Linked DNA regions of Homo sapiens: regions 1 and 2 are each linked to region 3. Evidence: promoter capture Hi-C in human tissues and cell types (Jung and others, 2019). All regions are on one chromosome and are shown on one strand. Each heading gives the region's core, a stretch centred on a gene start or on the middle of the fragment in contact. The rest is flanking DNA. Distances are from core to core; before and after follow the strand shown. Region 1 holds the start of MTA1 (metastasis associated 1). Region 2 holds the start of INF2 (inverted formin 2). Region 3 holds the start of CDCA4 (cell division cycle associated 4).

Evidence for each region. The method cuts DNA at HindIII sites, captures the fragments that hold promoters and counts their contacts. A contact is called where the count stands out against the background at its distance.
Region 1: a contact is called between the fragment with the promoter of MTA1 here and the fragment with the promoter of CDCA4 in region 3, in 2 of the 25 tissues and cell types used here (dorsolateral prefrontal cortex and liver).
Region 2: the fragment with the promoter of INF2 here is called in contact with the fragment with the promoter of CDCA4 in region 3 in 1 of the 25 tissues and cell types used here (liver).

The regions. Positions count from the first base shown.
Region 1 is chr14:105,418,438-105,421,154 of GRCh38, reverse strand. It overlaps MTA1 (metastasis associated 1), which reads right to left and starts at 1,328. Exons shown (of 21, transcript NM_004689.4): 1 at 1,092-1,328. The coding sequence starts at 1,119. It overlaps MTA1-DT (MTA1 divergent transcript), which reads left to right and starts at 1,416. Exons shown (of 2, transcript NR_125385.1): 1 at 1,416-2,133. RefSeq lists silencers at 1,235-1,494, 1,585-1,634, 1,665-1,764 and an enhancer at 2,462-2,717. The HindIII fragment of the contact is 32,458 bases long and covers 1-2,717 here.
Region 2 is chr14:104,688,275-104,690,974 of GRCh38, reverse strand. INF2 (inverted formin 2) reads right to left here and starts at 1,357. Exons shown (of 23, transcript NM_022489.4): 1 at 1,236-1,357. RefSeq lists silencers at 844-893, 984-1,223, 1,244-1,333, 1,434-1,693 and enhancers at 1,386-2,375, 2,376-2,700. The HindIII fragment of the contact is 30,363 bases long and covers 1-2,700 here.
Region 3 is chr14:105,019,688-105,022,412 of GRCh38, reverse strand. CDCA4 (cell division cycle associated 4) reads left to right here and starts at 1,330. Exons shown (of 2, transcript NM_017955.4): 1 at 1,330-1,414. RefSeq lists enhancers at 535-594, 610-1,123, 1,638-2,153, 2,605-2,725 and silencers at 895-964, 995-1,884, 1,895-1,984. The HindIII fragment of the contact is 13,458 bases long and covers 1-2,725 here.

The DNA of each region.
Region 1 (2,717 bases), core at 79-2,578, 400 kb before region 3:
CTGACCGCCCATCTCACAGACGGGATGTAGGGGGCTCCCACCGTCCCCAAGGTCACAGGACTGGCCGGCCAGACCACACGGCGTCCAAGGCAGCAGAAGCCACGCTCGAGAGACACAGAGTGTTCTGGGCACTCGGGGTCAGGGGCATGGGGATCAAGCCAGAGCGGGAGTGACCCCAGCTCCCTCCAGCAGCGCAGGCTGCAGGTGGGAAAGGTAATGAGCACCTGCCCGAGAGGGTCACAGGCAGGGAGGGGTCTCAGAGTCCTGGGGAGGGAGGCGCTGATGGAATGATGGAATGCACACGACCCCCCACCTTCCTGTGAAAGACCCCACGGAGTCCCAGGCACACGAAGGAGGGCAAGGCTCAAAGCTGCAGGCCCGGGGGGCCCGAGCAACAGGAGGCTGGGCCCACGGAGGAAGCCCCTGCCCAGGAGGCCCTCCGGCCTCTCCCCAACCCTTGCAAAGCGCCTCCCGAATGGGCTGAGGTGAGCGAGAGGCAGGGAAAAGTTTGGGGGGACTTAGAGGCGTGCTCGGGATGCTCGCTCCCTGCTGAAGACCCCCTGAGGGATCCCTGCTGGGGGAAGCCCCGGGGCCAGGCTGCAGGAGGGCTCTAGGGAGGAACGTGGCCCCTCACCGGGGCTCCCCATCCCCAGAGGGGATGCACCGGAGTCCCAGCACAGGGCCGCGGGCCGGGGGAGACCCCACAGCCCCAAAACTCCTGCTCCCAGACCGGCAGCCGGCGCCTCCCAAGGCCACGTGCTCCCGCTGGGGGCTCCCGGCCCCGGACCCCCGGATGTCCCGCAGGCCCCGCGCCCCCCCGCCACCCCCGCGGCCGCCCCCTCGGCCCCAACAGGTGGGCCGCCCCCCACCCCCGGGCCGCCGAGCCCCGCCCGCCCCCGATGGGGCCGACCCGCGGGGCCATTTTGGGTTGGGGTGAGCACGGCGGGGGGCGGTTCGGGAAGGAGCCGGGGGCCGCGAGGGCGGGCGGGGGGCGCGGGGCCTGCGGGGCAGAGGGGCGGGGGAGGCGGCAGCGGCGGCGGGTGGGGGCTGCGGGCGGGTCGGGGCCGGGCATAAAGGCGGTGCGGCCTTACCTCCGACCCTGTACATGTTGGCGGCCATGTCCGGGCCGGCGGCGGCGGAGGGGCCCGGGGCGGGCGCGGCGCTCGGCGCGGGCGGCCGGGAAAATGGAGGCGCGATGGCGGGGGCGGGGGGCGCCGCAGGCGTTTAAAGGGGCCGCGCTGCTGCCGCCGCCGCCGCCGCCGCCGCCGCCGAGGCCGCCGAGGCCGCGCAGGGACGGGAGGGCCGCGGCGCGGGCGGGAGAGGAAGAGGAGGAGCGGCCGCGGGCGGCGGGGAGGGGCCTCGGGCGCCGCCGCCCACCGCACGGGCCGTTACCGACCCCGCGCCGCCCGCGGCCCGCGCGCCCCTTCCCGGACAGTTCCTCTCGGCGCCCCCGAGTCCTCCCCGCGCGCCGCTTCCCGGGTGGGCCCTTCCACCAGAACCCCCTGGTAGATCCTCCCCTGGTGCCCTGGGGGTAGAGGGGAGATCCTCCACAAGGGCCATTTCCCTGGTGATCCCTCCCTGTGCCCCACAGGTGAGTCCTGCCGTAGCTCTCCAGGGGTTCCTCCTGATGCTGGGGTCCTCCGGCATTCCTCCCTGAGCCCCCCAAGGGCCCTGAAGCTCAGCGGCCCAGCCCTGGCCTCGGGGTCCCCACCCCACACCTCCCTTCCAGGCCTAACCTTTGCCCCCGACACCAGGCAGGGCGTGTCCTTGGCCTTCGCCGCCCAGCCCGCGTGGCATCTCTGGACAGGTGGTCGTGCGCGCCTTGGTGTGGGCAGGCTCCGTAGCCGGCAAAGCCTCCCTGAACCGTGACCTGGTGAGAAGGCCGCAGAGGAGGTGCCTGTGCCCAGAGGCCACCTCCAAAGACCCCACCTGAGGCTGGAACCCAGCGCCTGCTGACCCCGCCAGCCCCAACAGGGCTGGAGTCCAGGAGCGGCCGTGCTCTTTCCGCAGTGAGGCAGCTGCCTTCTCTTCCCACCACCTGTCAGGATGCCTTCCCGTGTGTGCTTGTGCACAGGTCTAAGGAGAGGAGAGTCCAGTGAGTGACCCAGACGCCCCAGCCAGGAAGAGCATGAGGTGCGAAGGGGGCTTCCCAGATGGAGAGAAACAGATGGTCCCAGAGTGGCTTGGAGACAGGTGCAACATCAGTGTTGGGGGAGGTGAGCAAAAGGAGCTGTCTCGGGGTTCCAGGCTGCTGATGTGAGCAGCACCGTGGGTCTCTGTCCTGCCTGCTCAGATGCTGGAGGGAGCTGACATCTACTTGGGACATCCCTCTCTGTAGGACATGGAGCGGAGCGTTCAGGGCTATCAGGAGGGAGCCCCGTGGCCACGGTGCAAGATCTAGGCAGGCGGGACAGACATGGTCAGGATGCTGGGGACACAGCATGGGGAATCCAGCACACAGGACACCATCCAGGTGGGTAGGAAACAGCATGTGCTGGGAGGAAAGCCAGGTGGGGGTCCCAAGGAGAGCGGTGGCCACAATGTCATGGCTGCAGAGCAGACCAGTAAGGAAAGCCCCACCAGGGTTAGCACAGGGCCAGGAACCCGAGCTGCAGGGCGGTGCTGTCTCTGGGGAGAGAGGGCTATGGGTCCCAGGACACATCCTGCGGGCTGGGCTGCAGGGAACAGGAGCTGGCTTGCTGGTGATTGGGAGGGAA
Region 2 (2,700 bases), core at 108-2,607, 330 kb after region 3:
TTTAGAACAGAAAATTGCTGCTGCCCTGGTAGGGGTGGGAGCAGTGTGAGGTCTCAGACCCCAGGCCTGGAACCCAATGCTACTATTTGCTGCACTGGGGGCTGAGCACCGACACCCCAAAAGCCCCTGGCTGGGTGGCACCCTCGGGGTCTGAGGCACTGCTCTGGGACCCCACCTTCCCAGTGCAGGGCGGCAGGGAGCAGGTCCCAGCCTGAGCTGCTGTCCCACCCTTCAGAGTGCAGATGTGGAAACTGAGGCCGGAAGAGGGCGAGTATCCTGCTCCATTCCAGTGCCAGACGGAGGGGCAGGGCTGGCAGTAAGGGAATTTCCTACGTCCAGCGCCTTCTGGGTGTGCCTGACCTCTGGCCCGGTTCCTGGGTTCCTGGTTCCCTGCCTGGGCAGGGTCTCTGCCTCTCTGCCTCCTGGTGTGTCCAGCTGGAGTGGGCAGTAATGCTGTGGTCACAGCTGAGCTGCGGGAGCCCTGGGTGGGGAGCTTGAGCCCCAGAAGGCCCAGACAGACAGACCACCCCCCACGCCTGTGCTCCCCAGGGGGCATTGGGGACGGTCAGGGACACAGCTGGTCACCCCGCCTTCCCCTCCTTAGTCATGGTCACTCCTGGGGCGACTCCCCAGTTAGAGGGTTGACGGGTGGGTCTGGGGGCGTACAGGGATTGGATCCTACCCCACCCAAAAGGAACAGAGAGCTGTGATGGAGGCTGATTCCCCTAAGCCTGCCAGCGGTTGCGGGGTGGGAAGGGCTCCCTGTGCGCCCACCTGCGCGTGGGCAGCTGGAAGCCAAGCAGTCAGGGTGGGGCCGCAGGCCGGCGCGCACCTCGGGGTGCCACCCGGGCGGCGGACCCGAAGTTGAAGTTTATTTTCCCAACTGTGGCTGATTCATGGTCAGGATGTGGCAGCCGCGAGGCGCGGAAATCCCGCCTGCCCTGGGAGTAGGCCCGGCCGACCCTGGGCCCACCACTCTGCGGCCAGTGCGCGCTCGGGCGGTGCCTCGGCGCGGAGGACCATAGTCCCGAGCGGGGCGCGCGGAGCCGGGGGGGCCAGGGGCGCCCTGGGGTCCCCGCCCGGGAACTGTACCCTGCGCCGCCGGACCGCCCGCCGCCACCTGGGCACACACGCCGCAGCCCGGAACCTCGCTCCTGGACCCAAGCACGCCCCTGCCTCCTCCCGGACTCAGTTTCCCCTGAAGCTCCAAGCGGACCCCGAGGCCAAGGACTTACCCGGTGAGGCAACGGCCAGAGGGCGGTGGTGCGGCCGGCGCTCCGTCCGGGGCCGGGTCAGGGGCTGCGGGCAGCCGGCGCCCACTGCCGCGCTCCGCAAGGCTCGGACGGTGGCTCCTGGCGGGCGCGGGGCGGGCGGGGCGGGCGGGAGGAAGAGGAGGTGCCGCCCCGCCCGTCAGCGGCCACGTGGGGAGCGAGCGCGGGCCGGGGGCGGGGCCTGGGGGGGGAGGTGGGTGGCTGGGGGTGGCCCCGCCCACTGTGGCCGGTCCCTGAGGGCGCTTTAAGGGGTCTCCCCACTCCCGTGAATAACCTGGCCGCCCCCTCGCGGTCCCTGCTGGCCTGGCTCCTGGTGGGCGGAGATGGGGGTGGGACGCGCAGATCGGGGCCGTCTCCCGCCTCAGCCCCCACTGTCCGCCCCGTCCCTGCCCTCCACCGCCTCCCGTCCACCTACACCCCTATCCTCCGGTGGGACTGGCCTCCCAGGCGCCGCTCACCTCTCTCTGCCCCGGCCCGGGACTCCCGTTCCAGCCAGCCGGATCCGGAGTCCCCGCGTTCGGGGATCCCTCAGCAGAGATGGCTCTTCCCAGGCTTTGGGGAGAGAGAGCCTACCCATCAACCAGGCCACCCATGTGGCCTCCTCTCCGCAGCCCTGCCTGACCCCCTTCCACCCTTGATGGGGTCTCGGCGGTCTTGGGCAGCCGCACTTCGCCGGTTGGTGGAGACAGCTGCATGAGGGCCGCGGAGGTGTCGCAATGGGGTGGGTTTTCTCTGCCACCCCTCTGCTGTCCGGCCTCATCTGTCTCCTAGATTGAGGGGGGCACCCATCCCCCCACCGCCGACATTGACCAGCATGGGGCGTGCCCATAGTCGGCTCTGAAAGCCAGCCTGGTTGGATGAGAGCCAGACCCCAGCTCTGGAAGTCCCTTCTGACGTCTGACCCTCAGTCAGAGCTGCAGGAAGCAGCGCACCAGGCCTGGGGTTTGGGGGCCACTGGCAGCTAGAGGGAGGGCAGAGGAAGGCAGGCCTGGGGGAGCCCCCGTGTGACATGTGACAGAGCAGACACAACCCCTGCCCTGAGAACCGGCGCCAGCACTCCCTGTGCGGCCTCAGGCTCGGATATGACTCTGTGGAGCCTCAGTTTCCCCATCTGTAAAATAGAATAAGTACCCGTAAGGGCTGTATGAGGGTCAAGAACATGCGGATAAAGTGTCTCCACTCGGAGTCCTGACATCTCTCTCCGGAGGGCCTGCTGTGTGGGCCGTGGCGGCCAGGGCTCAGGGTGAGGGCGAGGGGAGAGAAAAGGGCTCCTGAATGGCTTCCCAGCCCCGATGCAGCTTCTGCTTTGAGGCCAGCTGCGTGTCCTTTGGCTTTGGTGTGCCTCCGCTCCGGTGGGGATAAGCGCCGAATTGCAGGCTGCGTCTGTCTGCTCCCTGTGCGGACCTTGCCCTGCCCAGCAGCCCCAGCC
Region 3 (2,725 bases), core at 81-2,580:
CCAGCCTGTGTAACAAGACAATACCCTGTCTCTACAAAATTACCAAAAAAAAAAAAAAAGTTAGCTTGGTGTAGTGGCACACTTCTGTAGTCCCAGCTACTTGGGAGGCTGAGGCGTGAGAATCACTCGAGCACAAGAGTTCGAGGATACAGTGAGCCATAATCACGCCACTGTTGTCCAGCCTGGGCGAAAGAGACCCCCTTTTTTTTTTTTTTAAATAAGAACAGTGATTCTTTTCAAGCACAATTCAGATTCCAGTTCCTTCTCTGCTGACCATGCCAGTAGTCTCCATCCCACTCCCAGAATAGCCCAAAAGTCCCTCCACCCCTCACACTTAAAACTTTCCCACGAGATCACAGGGTTCTTTCTCACTGCACTGAGACGTGCTCCTGCCTCCTGCCCCTGCCTCGGGCTTTGCCCCAGCCATTCCTCTCCTGAATTCTCGTCCACTCTTCCTTTTGGTGCTTTAAGACGCTCCTTATCCTAGAGACCTATGTGAGCAGCGCCCCCACGTCACTCCCAGGTTTCCCGACAGCATTTCAGCATTTACCACCGACCTTGGCGCATCCGCACCTGCGGATTGATCTGAGGATTCCCCCCCAACTTCCAGCACTTGGCTCTCAGCTGCAGCCACGCCTGCCGGGCCTGCTGCAGGCGCTCAGGGTATTACTTAAGTCAATGATTGCAGGTTCTCGCATCCTATTTAAAACCTTTTCCACTAAGAGATTTAAAACACGTGTCCCCTGCTTTGAACTTTCACGTTACATTTCTTACGTGTAAACCTAGGAAGCCTTTGGAGATAACCCCGGTCTCTGGAGAGGCTTGGATAGACCTCGGAGCCCAGACCGCCCGGGAATTGCCGTGCCCGGCTCCTCCCGACCCCGGCACGGATGCCTCGGCGGAGAAGTTGAGCCAGGCAGAAGCGAGAGAGTCCAAACCTCTGTTTGCCCCGCCACGCCCGCCCGAGGGCCCCACGTGGGCCCCAGGCGCAGGCGCGTTCAGTTCAGGGCCAGACGCGCGGAGACCTGGGAGCTGGCGGGGCGGGGCCGGACTGGGCGCGGGGAGACCTGGGAGCCGGCGGGGCGTGGGCGTGGCGGGGCCGGGCGCAGGGGCGGGGGCGGGGCAACCGAGGGCGCGCGCGAGCCCCAACGGCCGTCGCCGCAGCGCGGGAAGACGCGCCACAGATGCCCCGCCCGCGTGGGTTTGAACAAGAGGCCCCGCCCCCGGCCCGCGAGTGGCCAATCAGCGGGCGTAGCGCGCGGAGAGCGCAGCGTCGACCCTTTGTGGACGCCGAGTGGCGGTCGCTCGCCCCGCCCCGCGCCGTCGGGCGCTCCTTCCTCAGCGGCGGGAAGCTGGCGGCAGCGGCGGTGGCGGTGGCTGAGCAGAGGACCCGGCGGGCGGCCTCGCGGGTCAGGTGAGCGGGCCCGGCGGACCGCTAGGGCGTCTACGGCGGCGTGCACTTTTGTGCTGCAGGGCGCGGAGGAGCCTGGGGGCGGTGCGCGGAGTCTGTGGCTCCTGGCGCTGGGTCCGGGGCGGAGGCGGCGCCCGGGACCACCGCTGGGGCTGCCGCGGCGCCCTCGCCGCCCTCCTGGGCGCTGGTTCCCCCGCGGGGTGGCCGCTGCTGAGGGGGCCCGGGGAACAGAGGGGCCCGGGCCGCCGTCTGCGTTCCTTGCGGAGCGCGGAGCTGGGGCTTTGCCGAGGCCTGCGGGCGGCCCCACGCGGGAGCCGCTTCACGAGGGCCCGGCTGGGGTACGCAGCGGCGTTTCCCGTACCTCGGCTCTAGTTGCAGCGGAGGGAACGCCAGGCGCGCCGCAGCCCCCTCTGTCGGAGCCCGGCCGCGGAGAGGGCCGCGGATGTGGGAGGAGGCCCAGACCCCGGGCGGGTCGGCCAGCGCCGTCTTCCCTGGGCTCCTCCGGCGGTGCGAGGTGGGACTAGGGAAAGTCCCCGAGACACTTGCAGAAGTCAGACGCAAGCCTCCCTCCGCGTCTTCAGACGCTTCTCGCCCCGCAAACAGGATCGTCGTGGCAAAGGCTCCGACAGCTTGCTGGAATAGAGGGTCTCCGCTGCCTCGCTTCTCCTGTGGCCTTCGTGTGGGACGCACGGGACGGCGGGACCCAGATAACCGTTCTCTCAAAGCGAGCCACAGAAAAACATTGCCTGTTCACAAAACTTACGTTTTATCAACTTTCTACGTACAACCACTCTATTTTCAAGTGTCACCGTGTTTTATAATTAGGGTGGAAATCCAGAATACAAAGTGAGTTACACCCCTTTTCTAGGAAGAGTAGTAGGCTGTATCTTGGAAAAGGGGCTAGGAAGTTTCCCTCAACTTGCCACTGGAACATGTTTTCAGGGAAAAGAAGGAGTGTGTTTCGTTCCAAGTAACAAAAGTACCTGCAATTGGCTGGGCGCGGTAGCTCACACCTCCCAGCACTTTGAGAGGAGGCCTAGGCGGGTGGATCTCCTGAGGTCCCGAGTTCGAGACTAGCTGGCCAACGTGGTGAAACCCCGTCTGTACTAAAAATACAAAAATTAGCTGGGCGTGATGGCGCATGCCTGTAATCATAATCCTAGCTATGTGGGAGGCTGAGGCAGGAGAATCGCTTGAACCAGAAAGGCAGAGGTCTCAGCCGAGATCGTGCCATTGCACTCCAGCCTGGGCGACAGAGCGAGACTCCGTCTCAAAAAACAAAAAAAACCAAATACCTGAAATTAACATAACAGT